Regions from separate parts of the Homo sapiens genome. Here region 2 is linked to region 1. Evidence: promoter capture Hi-C in 16 types of primary human blood cells and fetal thymus (Javierre and others, 2016). All regions are on one chromosome and are shown on one strand. Each heading gives the region's core, a stretch centred on a gene start or on the middle of the fragment in contact. The rest is flanking DNA. Distances are from core to core; before and after follow the strand shown.

Region 1 (7,394 bases), core at 4,121-6,620:
TTTTTGTTGGTTAAATATCAAGTGAAATTGCTGAGTCATATGGTAAGGATATGTTTACCAACATAAGAAACTGTCAAACTGTTTTTGCAAAGTTAAGGTACCATTTTATAATATTGCTGGTGATGTATAAGAATTCCAGTTGTTCCCTATCTATGTCAACACTTAGTGAATCAACCTTTAAATTTTAGCCATTGTAGTGGACGTGTAGTGGTTTTGTTTGTCCCCAGTGTTAACTATCTTACCATGTGTTTATTGGCTATTAGTATATTTTCTTTTATGAAATCTCTATTACAATCTTACAACCAAATTTTAACTAGGTATTTTCTGTTATATTATTATTTAGTTGTAAGAGTTACTCATAAACTCTAGATACAAGTCTTTTGTTAGATATATGTACTATATTTTCTCAGTTCGTGAGTTGACTTTTCATTTCTTGATGGCATGTAAGAATAGAAATTTTTAATGTTAATGACATTCTATTTATCAACTTTTTTATGATTCATGCTTTTTATTTCACATGTAGGGAATCTTTACCTACAAGAAGATCACAAATATCTTCTCTCATGCGTTTTCCTACAGATTTGTAGTTTGAGTTTTGAGGTCTTACATTTCGATCTATAACTAATTTCAAGTTAATTTTTGTGTATGGTGTGAAGTAAAGGTATCCCAATATTTTGGGGATTTCTGGTATTCTATATAGCGCTTACCTCTTCAGAGCCCTTTGCTGCAACTTCAGCCTCCTTCCAAAACGCCTGAACTCTGGTATGTGTCTTCTATACAAGGCAAGGCCATATACTCTCCTTGGGACTTTCGTCTACACTGTGGTCTTGCATGTGTGTCTCTCAATAAAAATACAGGATGACTATAGACTTTACGTGGTTTATCTCTTTTTTCTCAGGGATCATAGTGTTTCTCTGCCTATTCTCCAAAGTCTGAAACTATTATTTCATCTAATTTTGTGCTGTTTTCCATCTCTTTCTCTGTGGAGAAAGAATAATTCTATTCATTATAATAATGGCTGTAAATGTAAGTCTATGTGCCCTGCATTTTAATCAATATTACCCTTTCAAAATGTACTCCACAAACAGGCCTATCATGAGCAACAGACACATTCACTAGCACTGCTTATCATTATTTAAATATTTTTCCAGTAAGATAGTATATAGTTTCCTAGGGCTGCCATAACAAATTATCACAAACTGCATGGCTTTAAAACAACAAAATGTTATTGTCTCATAGTTTTGGAGATTAGAAGTCCAAAATCAAAATATGAGTTGGGCATGTCCCCTCTAAAACATGCAGGGGAATCCTTTATTGACTCTTCGTAGCTCTGCTGGTTTGTTGACAATCTTTGACGTTCATTGGCTTGTAGCTACATAACTCTAATCACTGCCTTGGTCATCCCATAGCATTCTCCTTGTGTTTCCGTGCCTTTATATGGCCCTTTTCTTATAAGGATACCAGTAATACTGGATTAACAGACCACCCTATTTCTGTGTGACCTCATATTATCTGATTATATGTCCAACAACTTTATTTCCAAATAAAGTCACATTCTGAGGTACAGGGGTTTAGCACTCCAGCATACCTTTTTTGGAGGGGGCCACAATTCAACTGATTACAGATAGGTAGAAATGACATGTTATTATTCTGATTTATGTTTATTTAAGTGTGACTAAGGTAGAATATATTTTCATGTTTGTTGGTTATTTTTATTTTCTATTGTCTATGTCCTTTCTTATTTTTCAATTGAGTTGTACACCTTTATACTCTGAAGGAATTCTCCATAAAGGAATTAAATCTATTATAGATCATGATGTATGTTTAGTATTTCTTCAGTTTGTCATTTGTCTTTTGACTTCATATAAATTCAAATAGGTAATTCTGCCTGCTAGATAATCTTAAATTCTACATAATCAAATTTATCTGTTAAGTTTAGTTTTGCCTTATTTGTTTCTAGGTTTTAAGTCTTAATTTCAAAGACTTCTCCTACCCCTAAGTTAATGAATAAAACTACTTGTAGTTATTTAATTAAACATTTTATCTATTTATATTTATTTTGATGTTAAGGTATAATATCCCTTTTTACATTCAAAGTTATAAATAGCCAACTGCCCTGTTACATTTGTTGAATAATATAGCTTTCATTTATTTTGAAGAGATTGCCACTTTCTTCTTAGGTCTGTTTTATTTTTATTTCTTTTATTTAGTTTTTTGCAATAGGGTTCTTGCTATGCTGCCTAGGCTGGATTCAAAATCCTGGGCTCAGGTGTTCCTTCCACCTCAGTCTCCCGAGTAGCTGGGGCTACAAGCATGTGCTGCTGCTGAGCCTAAAGTCCATTTTCTGTTTCCTCTGTAGTATTAAGTTTGTAGTTTTGTCACTTAACATGCGCAAGGACTATATACCCATTAAATTCTTATCTTAAATATTCCAAATAAATTTTATTGTCATTTTATCAAGTCATAAAATATCCTGCTGGCTTTTTATTTGATATTTCACTGAATTCAAAGATATAAAAAGAACTGGCACCCTTAAAATAATAACCCCCTGGCATACAAATTATGGTCTCCAGATACCACACTTTCTTAATAAAAGAAAGCAGGGTTCCTTAGACATACAGTTAATTATAAGTATGAAACAAAACAAAACAAACAAAAAAAAATAAGAGGATTCTAGATATCTTTTTAGAGCAGGTAGCAAGGCAGTAAGTAAAGCGATTGTGTCAAAAGCATTCATGAGTGAATTTTGAAGAGGCTGCCATCGGCCAAAATTAAAGCAATCTAAGTATCAAGAAGGATAATAATTGCAATGGATTGTAACATAAAACACCAAACAATAACTATAAAAACAACGAATTAATTGGTCACTATTGGAGAATGATAACAATGATTACTTCCCAACCCCAGTGCCTTGACTTTTCTGTTCTTTATAACATTACTGGAATAGTCTCACCAGCATTCTTATCTAAGTATTTCATTGTTCCTCTGATTGTAAACAAACAAGAAGGGATAAGTGGTATCAGTTACTACCCCATTTAGTTGATTTAGATAATGAGATGCGAGACTTTTGAACTGATGAAGTATAGATGAACTTTCTGGACTTTGAGTTCATGCTATAATGGGATGGGACTTTGGTGGATGTTGCATTTTGTATGTGGACAGATGTGAATCTGAGGGGCCACAGAACCATTTTAGTAGGCATAATAAAGGCCTCCTCAAACTGTTAGAACTCGTGAATAGTTACCTTACATGGCAAAACGGACTTTGCAGATATGATAAGTTTACAGGGTTTGAAATGGAGATTACGTTGAGTTGTCCAGATAGGTCCAATGTAAACACATGACATCTAAAATTTGGAAGAGCGATGCAAAAAAATGTCCTCTGTAAAGGACCTGACCCGCTGTTGCTGGCTTTGAAGATGGAGAAAGAGGGTCTCTGAGCTAAGATATGTGTATGGCCTCAGAAACTGGAAACAGCTCTCAGGTTACAGCCAGCAAGAAAATGAAGACCTGAACCCTACAACTGCAAGAAAATGAATTCTGCCAATAACTCAAATTAGCAGGAAACTGATTCTCCCCTAGAACATCCAGAAAGGAATGCAGCTTTGCTAATAACTTGCTTTTAGTTAAGTGAGACCCATACCAAATTTCTGATATACCGAACTGTAAAAATAATAGATTTGAGTTGGTTTAAGACACTAAATTTGTGGTAATTTGTTAAGGCAGAAATAGAAAATGAATACAACCTATTTAGTTCAATCTTAATTCTAAAGGCCTTCTACTCTGAGATCACATAATCTTTACCTGCTTCTTGAACAAATCAGGATCTTGTTAGCAAGGAGAAAGGAGTGAGTGGCAGGGAGAATCCCAATGACCAGTGCTTGTCACAGACGGCTAATCTTAATCTGGTTTAAGTCTCTAGTTCTGTCTCTCAGAATTCTACCTCATGCTTTATGATCCACCACTTTCTAATCTATGGAATAGATGATCTCTTGCTTCTGTGCTCTTGGTAATTGAGTTCCGTCTGCCTGGAACACCTCCAGCCCACTGCCCATTACAAGTAATACTTAAGAACTAAGTGCTTGAATTCTTCACTCCTTATAAGAATCTTATTGAACAGCACTCACTATAGACACACACTTTTTATATTTCGCATTATGAAATACTTAAAAATGCGCAAAAGTAGAGAGAACATTACAATGGATCCCTATCAACCAGAATTCAGCTTCCATAATCAAAATTCACATTGATAAGTCAGAAATAACCAGCAATGTATTCCCACAGCAGGCTGACGTGTTGTCAACAGGGATGGTTTGATTTATATCTAAGCTGAGAAAATGGATTCAATTCTCCAGGATCTTAGTTATCGTGAACTCTAACAGCAAAAATGACAAAACCACTCTCAGAGGAGTCATTAAGTGCTACCAGTGACCAAGATGCGAGAAAAATCCTACTTCAGACTAGAACCTGAACAGCATGTCACAAGCGTCCTAAAATGGCTGTCACGTTACAGGACTTGCCCATAAGGTCAATTTTGGCCACTTAAGACTTACTTGAAGAGAGAGCTAAGGGTTTTCTTTTTAATTTCGTTTTTGTTTTTGTTTTTAATGGCCCACGTCAGTGCTAGCAATAGAGAAAATGTGTCCCTGATCCCTTGGATAAATCGAATTGACTGAAGAATGCTTGAATTCATTTATCCCAAAACAAAGGCAGACGGCTGAGGGTCACTGGAGTTTCAGGGCTGCTCCCAGCGTTGGAGCACGGACGCCAGAGCCGACTTCCCTCAGGCCCCGCACTGCGGCAGGGACCCTTCTACGGAGGATGGCTGGGGCTCCGGGAGGCTATAGGAACGCCATCTAGAAGCTAGATCTCAGGCAAACGAACGCGCTTTAAAAGGAATTAAAACGAAAGAACACAAACTCGAATCCTGGACCTGATTAGGGGCACGACCAAAGAAAGAAATAACTAACGGTTCTCACCCTCCCTTTCATTCCCTCCCGCGGAAAGAGAAAGGCTGGAACTCCGCTTCCCAGAATGCAAAGCGCGGGGCGGGGCTAAAGAGATAGCCTGTTTTCCCTCAAGTAGGATCGCGGGACCACAGGTTTGATTATAAACGCCAGTCTCTCGCCACGGCGCTCCTCCCCCTCAGTCTCACTGGTCCTGCCGGCCGTTGCGTGGAAGGGGGACTCAGTCGTCACTGGCAGCGGTTGAATGGAGGCTCTTTGCCCCGCGCCCTCACGGTAGATGAAGTCCTTGCTTTGGTCAGAGCGATAGCTTCTCCGATTGCCTCAGAGCAAGCGGACTACATTTCCCAGGGGGCTGCGGGACTGCCGGGAGGAGTGGGGGCGGTGCCTCACGTCTGGTACAGTCATCACAAGCCTGTTCGGCGGGACTGTGATGGCCAGAGAGATGACGATCTTAGGTGGGTTCCCGGGGGTCCTTGTTGCTCTTGCGGGCGTAGAGGCGATCTGAGGATGCCAGAGTGGGCAGGGGTGGTTGACTCACCTCCTGGATCTAGCTGGAGCAGCGGAAGGGGAGTCAGAAAGGTGACTTAGAGACGGTTTTCGGCTGTTCGGAGTGGATGGGGGCGGGGACGCCTCTAGGAGGGCCCCGGCCCCTGCAGGCCAAGGTAGGATAGACGGCGACCAGCTGTGTCCATCCCAGGGACATCAGGCTTAGGGAGGCGTTCCTTTCAACAGCACCTAGGTTTTTGAATTGCCTGTTGAATTGGGGCAAGCTATGGAAGGCTGCGAGAACGTGCACCTCCAGGACCCCTTTGTGGAGGAAGGGGGAGGAGCTACATCCGGATCTGTCGGCTCAGGGATGCTGAATTTGGAGGCTTTTTCCATCACATCGGGTTTGGAATTACCTATCCCCCACCCACACACACACCCACCCCGCGTCTCCAAGGTGATGAAATGCTTCTGAAATGTTGCCTGTAGCTGGAAGTGGAAAGTGGGATTCGCACTTGGTTTTATTTCTTTGAGTTATGTGTTGATGAGGATGAGCTAACAATTAGTAACACAGAGCCCTGAAAATTCATGTTTTGGGTCATATGTAATATGAGCGGACACAGGTGTATAACACAGCCTCCTGATACCAAATACGAGATTCATTAAAAACTAAAGGGGCATCTTTCTTCGCTTATGTTTACAATCTGCGTGGCATTTGTTCCTACTCTTTTTTCTTTTTTTTTTAAATTAGTATTTGTTGGGCATCTGCTATTCCTGGTCTGGGGGATACAACAGTGAACGAAACTTGTCTTCAAGAAGCTTTCATAGATGTTGCCGTCAGGGTTGCCCACCTTTATGCTTCTTCTCCCCTAAATATTACCACTGCAAGAAGGAAGTCCCTAGTTCATACTTAAATACATAAAAAGTTAACTGTGTTCTGTTTTGAAGTGACAGTTTCATATCTAAGGAACTTTCAAAATCATTTTATCCCATTTATTCATTTCATCCTTTTGAAAGGGAAAAGGAGGTGAGATACGAGGAGAGAATTTTAGACTTATAAAATAATAAAGTTTTTCTTGTGAGAATTTTAATAATGGAGCTTTTAAAAAAAGATAATCGAAGCTTTTTATAAAGCTGTAAAATCTAAATATCAATTGATCAAGAATATTAGATTATATCTGGCTTTTGCTCCAGATAAATGTTGTTTCTTGTCAGCATCTGCACAAATATTATTGAAATATTTTTACATTTTATTACATTTATTAGAGAATGACACAAACATACAGTTATAGGGTTTTTTGTTGTTTGTGTTTACTTCATTTTAAATTTTATTATAACCAGTTTACATTTTGAAAAACTTGCTGTCTGAGAGGAGTGCTATCAGCAGTCCTATAAAAAATTTTGAAATTTGTCTTTTTTAGCCTTGTTTCAACGAGTGATATTAAAGGGACTTTGCTACAGTAATTTAGTACATTGTACTAGTTTGATAAAATACATCTTTTAATTTTCCTTTATTTCAGGATCGGCTGTTTTGACTCTCCTGTTGGCCGGCTATTTGGCACAACAGTATTTACCATTGCCTACTCCTAAAGTGATTGGTATTGATCTTGGCACCACCTATTGTTCTGTTGGGGTGTTTTTTCCTGGCACAGGAAAAGTAAAGGTGATTCCAGATGAAAATGGGCATATCAGCATACCCAGCATGGTGTCTTTTACTGACAATGATGTATATGTGGGATATGAAAGCGTAGAGCTGGCAGATTCAAATCCTCAAAACACAATATATGATGCCAAAAGATTCATAGGCAAGATTTTTACCGCAGAAGAGTTGGAGGCTGAAATTGGCAGATACCCATTTAAGGTAAGTGATTAATCTAAAATCTATATTAATTTTAGTGTACTCTTTTAGTTAATGCTTTGGCTTCATGTCACAAAACATTCT
Region 2 (6,889 bases), core at 2,196-4,695, 660 kb before region 1:
AGTTCCTTCTCTTTTCTCCAGTAACTTCAAGTGCCAATAATACCTTGTTTGTGTTACAATTGCATTTTACAAAGCTAAAGGGAAATAATTTGTAGGGTTAACTTTTGTGTGTGTGTGTTTTGATATACTCTTGAGGTTTTGGAGAATACACATTATCCCCTGTAATCTATGATTGTTAATCTGTCAATCTATTGTACCTCTTTTCTTTTATTAATATAGTATTATTGGATTTGAGACATGTAAACTATGCTTCTCTAAGCAAATTAGTTGAATATATTCGTGTTTAGGTTATAAAAAATGAAAGCAAGAACTCTTAACATACTTGGCATCCTGTGTTTTAAATTCTTTTCCTAAAACTATAGCTTTGTAACCTGAATATTAGGTGTTAGAAATTTTATAAGACAATGGGAAAATAATGGCCCTATATTGTATTTTGCTTCTAAATGCTATTAGGGTATAGAATTGTTCTTTATTTAGGCAGATTAATTTTAAGAAGAAAGCCATAATATATGATGGACTTATTCAAATATATATTTTAGTGTTATTTATATATTTGTAAAATGAATACGTGTGTGTGTGTATGTATTTGTATGATATATTTTAAATGGAGATGTCTACACCTGTTGATTGCATTAAGCATTTAGTATCCCCTAATGAAGGATGGAAAAGGTGCTGCCACACTGTCTAAGTGGATCATTTCTCCTTGGTAAATTACACACATTCTACTTTTTTGTATTCTGTGACCTTGCGGTCAGTGACTTCAGCCCAGAATAGTTTCAGAGTCATGTAAATGAATGCAATTAAGGTATTGCCTATCATCTTACATAGTTCAGATGGAACCTTATTGGATAGAGAGGTTTATTTGCTTTATGAGAAAGGTCAAAATAAGGTTAAATTTTATTACATAAAATGATTTGGTAATGTTTTTATTTAGCTCCTAAAAAAGTAATGTCCTAATAGGAAATGATAATGCTTTTTGTTTTTCCTTTATCACCTGGAGGTCTCTTCAGGTTCTGTTTGTTTTTGTCTGATTATAAACTCTATTTTGAGGAGATGCCTTCTGTCGACTAAGATTTTGGGAACATCCTGCCTGTAGTTAAGATTCTAGATATCTTTGACTTATACACTTAGGTGACATACCCTGTTAATGATGTAGGGTAGCTTTGGTGTTGCTGATGTGTAGGCATACTTCATTTTATTGTGCTTCACTTTACTGCTCTTTGAAGATAATTTTGTTTTTTACAAACTGAAGGTTTGTGGCAGCCCTGCATTGAGCAAGTACCATTTTTTCAACAGCATGTTTTCAGTTTGTGTCTTTGTGGTCATGTTTTGATAATTCTCACAATATATAAAACTTTTTCATATTATTATATGTGTCATGGTGATCTGTAATCAGTGATCTTTGATGTTACTATTGTGATTGTTTTGAGGTACCATGAACTGTGCCCATATCAGCCGGCGAACTTGTTCAGTGTGGTCTGACTGCTTTACAGACTGGCTGTTCCCCCATCTCATCTCCCTTTCCTTGGGATTCCCTGTTCCTTGAGACACAACAATATTGAAATTAGGCCAATTAATAACCCTATAATGGCTAAGTATTTAAATGCAAGGAAAAGTTGTAGGTCTCTTACTTTAAATCAAGAGCTAGAAAAGGTTAAGCTCAGTGAGGAAGGCATGTCAAAAGCCAAGCTCTTCTGAAAGCTAGGCCTCTTGTGCCAGTTCACCAAGTTGTGAATGTAAAAGGAAAAGTTCTTAAAGGACATTAAAAGTGCTACTCCAGTGAACACATGAATGATAAGAACACAAAGCAGCCTGATATGGTTTGGCTGTGTCTCCACCCAAATCTCATCTTGAATTGTAGTTCCTATACTCCCCATGTGTCCTGGGAGGGACCCAGTGGGAGGTAATTGAATCATGGAGGCAGTTACCCCCATGCTGTTCTCGTGATAGTGAGTTCTCATGAGATCTGATGGTTTTTTAATTTAATTTTAATGATTTATTTATTTCTGAGAAGAAGTCTCGCTCTGCCGCCCAGGCTGGAGTGCAGTGGCGCGGTCTCAGCTCACTGCAAGCTCCGCCTCCTGGGTTCACGCCATTCTCCCGCCTCAGCCTCCCAAGTAGCTGGGACCACAGGCGCCCGCCACCACGCCTGGCTAATTTTTTGATTTTTAGTAGAGATGGGGTTTCACCATGTTAGCCAGGATGGTCTCTGTCTCCTGACCTCGTGATCTGCCTGCCTCGGCCTCCCAAAGTGCTGGAATTACAGGCGTGAGCCACCGCGCCCGGCCGAGATCTGATGGTTTTATAAGAGGCTTTTCCCACTTTGCTTGGCACTTCTTCCTGCTGCCTTGTGAAGAAGGTGCCTTGCTTTCCCCTCACCTTCTGCCATGATTTTAAGTTTCCTGAGACCTCCCCAACAATGCGGAACTCTGAGTCAATGAAACCTCTTTCCTTTATAAATTACCCAGTCTCGGGCATTTTTTCATAGCTGTGTGAGAACGGACTAATAGACAGCCTTATTGCTAATATGGAGAATATTTTAGTAGTCTGCCTAGAAAATCAAAGCAGCCATAACATTCCCTTAAGCCAAAACCTAATCCAGAGCAGCGCCTCACTCTAATTCCACAAAGGCCGAGAGGAGATGAAGAAACTGCAGAAGAAAAGTTGGAAGCTAGCAGAGGTTTGTTCATGAAGTTTAAGGATAGAAGCTGCCTGGATAACATAAAAGTGCACGATGAAGCAGGTAATGCTGATGTAGAAGCTACAGCAAGCTTCCAGAAGATCTAGGTAAGATCATTGATGAAGATGGCTACATTAAACAGCAGATTTTCAGTGTAAATGAAACAGCCTTCTGTTGGATGAATATGCCATCTAGGACTTTAATAGCTAGAGAGGAGAAACCAATGCCTGGCCTCAGAACCTCAAAGGACAAACTGACTTTCTTGTTAGTGGATAATACAGCTGGTGACTTGAAGTGGAAACCAATGTTTGGCCATTCCAAAAATCCTAAGCCCCTTAAGAATTATACTAAATCTCTTCTACCTATGCTGTATAAATGGAAGAAGAAGCCTGGATGACAGAACATCTGTTTACAGCATGGTTTGCTGAATATTTTAGGCCCCCTCTTGAGACCAACTGCTCAGAAAAAAAAGATTCCTATCGAAATATTACTGTTTATTGACCACGCACCTGGTCACTCAAGAGCTCTGATGGAGATGTACAAGGAAGTTAATGTTAATTTTCATGGCTGCTAATACAACATCTATTCTGTAGCCTGTGGATCAAGGAGTAATTTCAACTTTCAAGTCTTACTATTGAAGAAATACATCTTGTGAAGCTGTAGTTGCCATAGATAGTGATTCCTCTGATGGATCTGGGCAAAGGCAATTGTAAACCTTCTGAAAAGGATTCACCATTCTAGATGCCATTGAGAACATTTGTGATTAATGGGAGGAGGTCAAAATACTAACATTAATAGGAGTTTGAAAGAAGCTGCTTCCACCCCTTATGGATAACTTTGGCGGGTTGAAGACATCAGTGGAGGAAGTAACTGCAGATGTGGTGGAAATTGCAAGAAAACTAGAATTAGAAGTGGAGCCTGAAGATGTGACTGAATTTGTATAATCTCATGAGAAAACATGGACGGATGAGGAGTTACTCCTTATAGATGAGCAAAGAAAGTAGTTACTAGAGATGGAATCTACTCCTGATTGAAGATACTGTGAACATTGTTGAAATAACAACGAAGGATTTAGAATATCATGTAAACATAATTGATAAAACAGTGGCAGGGTTTGAGAGGATTGACTCCCATCTAGAAAGATATTCTACTGTGGGTAAAATGCTATCAAACAGCATTACATGCTACAGAGAATTATTCTGTGAAAGGAAGAATCAGCCGATGTGGCAAACTTCATTGTTGTCTTGTTTTAAGAAATCATTACAGAGACCCCAACCTTCAGCAACCACAAGCCTGATCATTTGGCAGCCATCAATATGGAGGCAAGGTGCCCACCACTGAAGAGTAAAACTCTCTAAAGATTCACATGATTGTTAGCATTTTTAGCAATAAAGTATTTTTATACTAAGGTATGTACATTGTTTCGACATAAAGCTTTTGCACACTTAATAGACTATAGTACAGTGTAAACATAACTTTTATGTGCACTAGGAAACCAAAAAACTTGTGTGACTTGCTTTATTGTGATATTTGCTTTATTTTAGTGATCTGGAATGGAACCCACTATATCTCTGAGGTATGCCTTTATGTGCTTAGAGACTTGTATTAATAATGCCTGAGTACCATGCTGGTTGGTATAGGACGTCAGACAGCGACACTAGAGTCCCAACTCATCTGGGTAGAATGGACACCTACCACCCAACCAGGCTGATTGTCTGGGCCGGGGGGATTAGGAGAGCATTGAAATAAGATACTGGAGGAGTCTTACTGATGAAGAACTGACAGTGAATGAGTGGATGAGAGAGAGAATGTGCATGTGTGTGTAGTAATTAAAGGCATATATTTTTCATTGTAGTTGGTCCATATAAAACTACCGTCTTCTCTTTTATATTTTTACTTAAGCCTGGCATATTAATTGATTAAGGCTCTGTGATTAATTGATGTCATTTATCAGACATTTACTGAGTACCAGCTGTATACCTTGCACCATGCTGGGTATTGAAGGCTCACAGACACAGGGAGAATAACAATAAGCAAGATACAGACTAAGTGACCTACAGGTATAGTGGTGAAGAGCTGGATTTTGGGGAAGTATTACTTTAAGCAATTTGTTATCTTTAAGTGGTTTTAAGGAGACTGAAGGGCCCCCAGTAAAATGAAATGAAAATGAAAAATAGCTACTTTATTTTGGGAGGTTAGAATTCAGGTTTACAGATGTATTTTTATTCAAAGCTATAATCTGTGAGAACTGATCATAGGTTATAGGCTAGGAATTGAGAGTTCTAGAAGTATAAGTCAGATCTAAGTGGCGTGGCTGATAGAAATGGAATGCTGCTATGGTGGTATCAGGGAGTTCGCATGGTACCTCCCTTATCACCGCTAGCTTCACTGTCCATTGGCCTGTTGACCAAAATAAAGTTTCCTCAGCCACCACAATGTTAAATTGTTTGCTACATCTCTTGCTGGCCAAAAACTTTGATCCACTCTTTTGTTCCTGAAAGTATGAACTTTTCCACGTCAGTGTCATTCTATATCTAGTATGGTTCTAATTCTGAGTTTAACATTTTCTGTTCCTAGTGGTACAGAAAAGAAATGAGGTGTTTCAAACTCTGCAATGACTGTTAAATAATTCTAATACTTTTTCTCCCAGAATCCTTGACTGAAATTCCTCTTTATCTTTGACATTAACTTTTTACATCATTGACAATAGGGACAATCTTTATAGTAAAATAAAAACAGATGAGTAGTGGGCCGGGTGTGCTGGCTCACGCCTGTAATCCCAGCACTTTGGGAGGCCGAGGCAGGTGGATCACCTGAGGTCAGGAGTTTGAGATCGGCCTGGCCAACATGGCGAAAACTCGTCTCTACTAAAAATACAAAAACTAGCCGGGCGTGGTGCTGGGCACCTGTAATCCCAGCTACTTGGGAGACTGAGGTGGGAGAATCGCTTGGACCTGGAAGGCGGAGGTTGCAGTGAGCCGAGATCACGCCACTGCACTCCAGCCTGGGTGACAGAGGGAGACTCCACCTCAAAAAACAAACAAACAAAAAAACAATTGGGTAGTGTATTTTGGCAAATAATTCTGTAATGAAAGCTGTTTTGTTACATGTGGTCAACAACTATGTCCAAAGAAAGCATGTATCATGAAGAATATGAATACTTTTTTTTACCTTGTAATACATCTTTTTTGTTGTTTTTTGAGATGATTTAGTTAGTAGTTAAAATTCCATTGTAAAACAAATCTTTGAGATAAGGTGCACTTGAAGTAACACTTATTTCTCTTAATTTTCAGGAAGTGTTTGGATTGTGAGCTATTTCAGAACTGTTCTCAGGACTCATTATTTTAACATTTGGGAGAAACACAGCCAGAAGGTATTGTCTTTTGTCTCATTGCCCCACTTTTAAAAATGTTATCAAGCCTTTCCAATTGTAGAAAAGTAAGACTGTTATGCCACATTTTGTTATTTTTCTTTAACTTTTAGATATGGATAAACTACCTTGCCATTTGTCACAAAGAAGGTTATATTTCAATTTTGGTAAATCAAAATTTTGTGTAAGCGAATAAAACGTCTGGTTTAGAGTAAACCAGTTTTACCTATTTTAAACACTGAGGTATTTACATTTTACTTTACTACTATAGAACTATTTTAAAGAATGTCTTGATTTGAAAATGAGATACATAAAGTTCCTTTTTATCTAAGACAGTGTGAAGTATACCTGAAACATTCAGGCAGTCTTAAAAGTCTTCCTGCCTGTGACAGCTCTACCTTCTAGTGTAGGGATCAGCTGCCATCTGCATTTGGATCAGTCTGTCATCAGAGTCCGTGGACAGACTCAGCCAGGCCACCTGGTTTTGCCTCCGAACATCCATTTGCGAAATTCTCTCTTTGCATTATCATTTGTGGATAGATTGGTATAGCATAATAATTTATCTGCTTGTAGGCCCAGAGTGTCAGGACATGTGACATATTACTAGGAAGGAAGGTTATGTTAAAATCATCTGTTGAGAAACTTACTCACTTTGTGCTTTGTCTTTTGTACCTTATCTTAGTCCATTTGAGCTGCTGTAACAAATACCATAGATGGGAGGCTTATACACCATAGAGGTTTATTTCTCACAGTTCTGGAGGCTGGGAAGTCCAAGACCAAGGTGCCAGCAGATTTAATGTTTAGTAAGGGCCTGTTCCTCATAGATGGCTGACTTCTCA

Evidence for each region. Contacts are between HindIII fragments. The CHiCAGO score rates a contact against its expected background, and 5 or more counts as called.
Region 2: a contact is called between a fragment that was not itself captured here and the fragment with the promoter of HSPA13 in region 1, in 1 of 17 cell types (erythroblasts). The highest score is 6.2, in erythroblasts.

Annotation. Positions count from the first base shown.
Region 1 is chr21:14,381,122-14,388,515 of GRCh38, reverse strand. HSPA13 (heat shock protein family A (Hsp70) member 13) reads left to right here and starts at 5,370. Exons shown (of 5, transcript NM_006948.5): 1 at 5,370-5,421; 2 at 6,973-7,313. The coding sequence starts at 5,397. LOC105369304 (a long non-coding RNA gene) reads right to left here and starts at 5,750. Exons shown (of 2, transcript XR_007067924.1): 1 at 708-5,750. RefSeq lists enhancers at 4,834-4,963, 5,354-5,663. The HindIII fragment of the contact is 7,322 bases long and covers 1-6,273 here.
Region 2 is chr21:15,042,659-15,049,547 of GRCh38, reverse strand. NRIP1 (nuclear receptor interacting protein 1) reads left to right here. Exons shown (of 4, transcript NM_003489.4): 2 at 5,974-6,053. Among named protein-coding and RNA genes, the nearest start is that of NRIP1, 19 kb to the left of the region's middle. The HindIII fragment of the contact is 1,343 bases long and covers 2,774-4,116 here.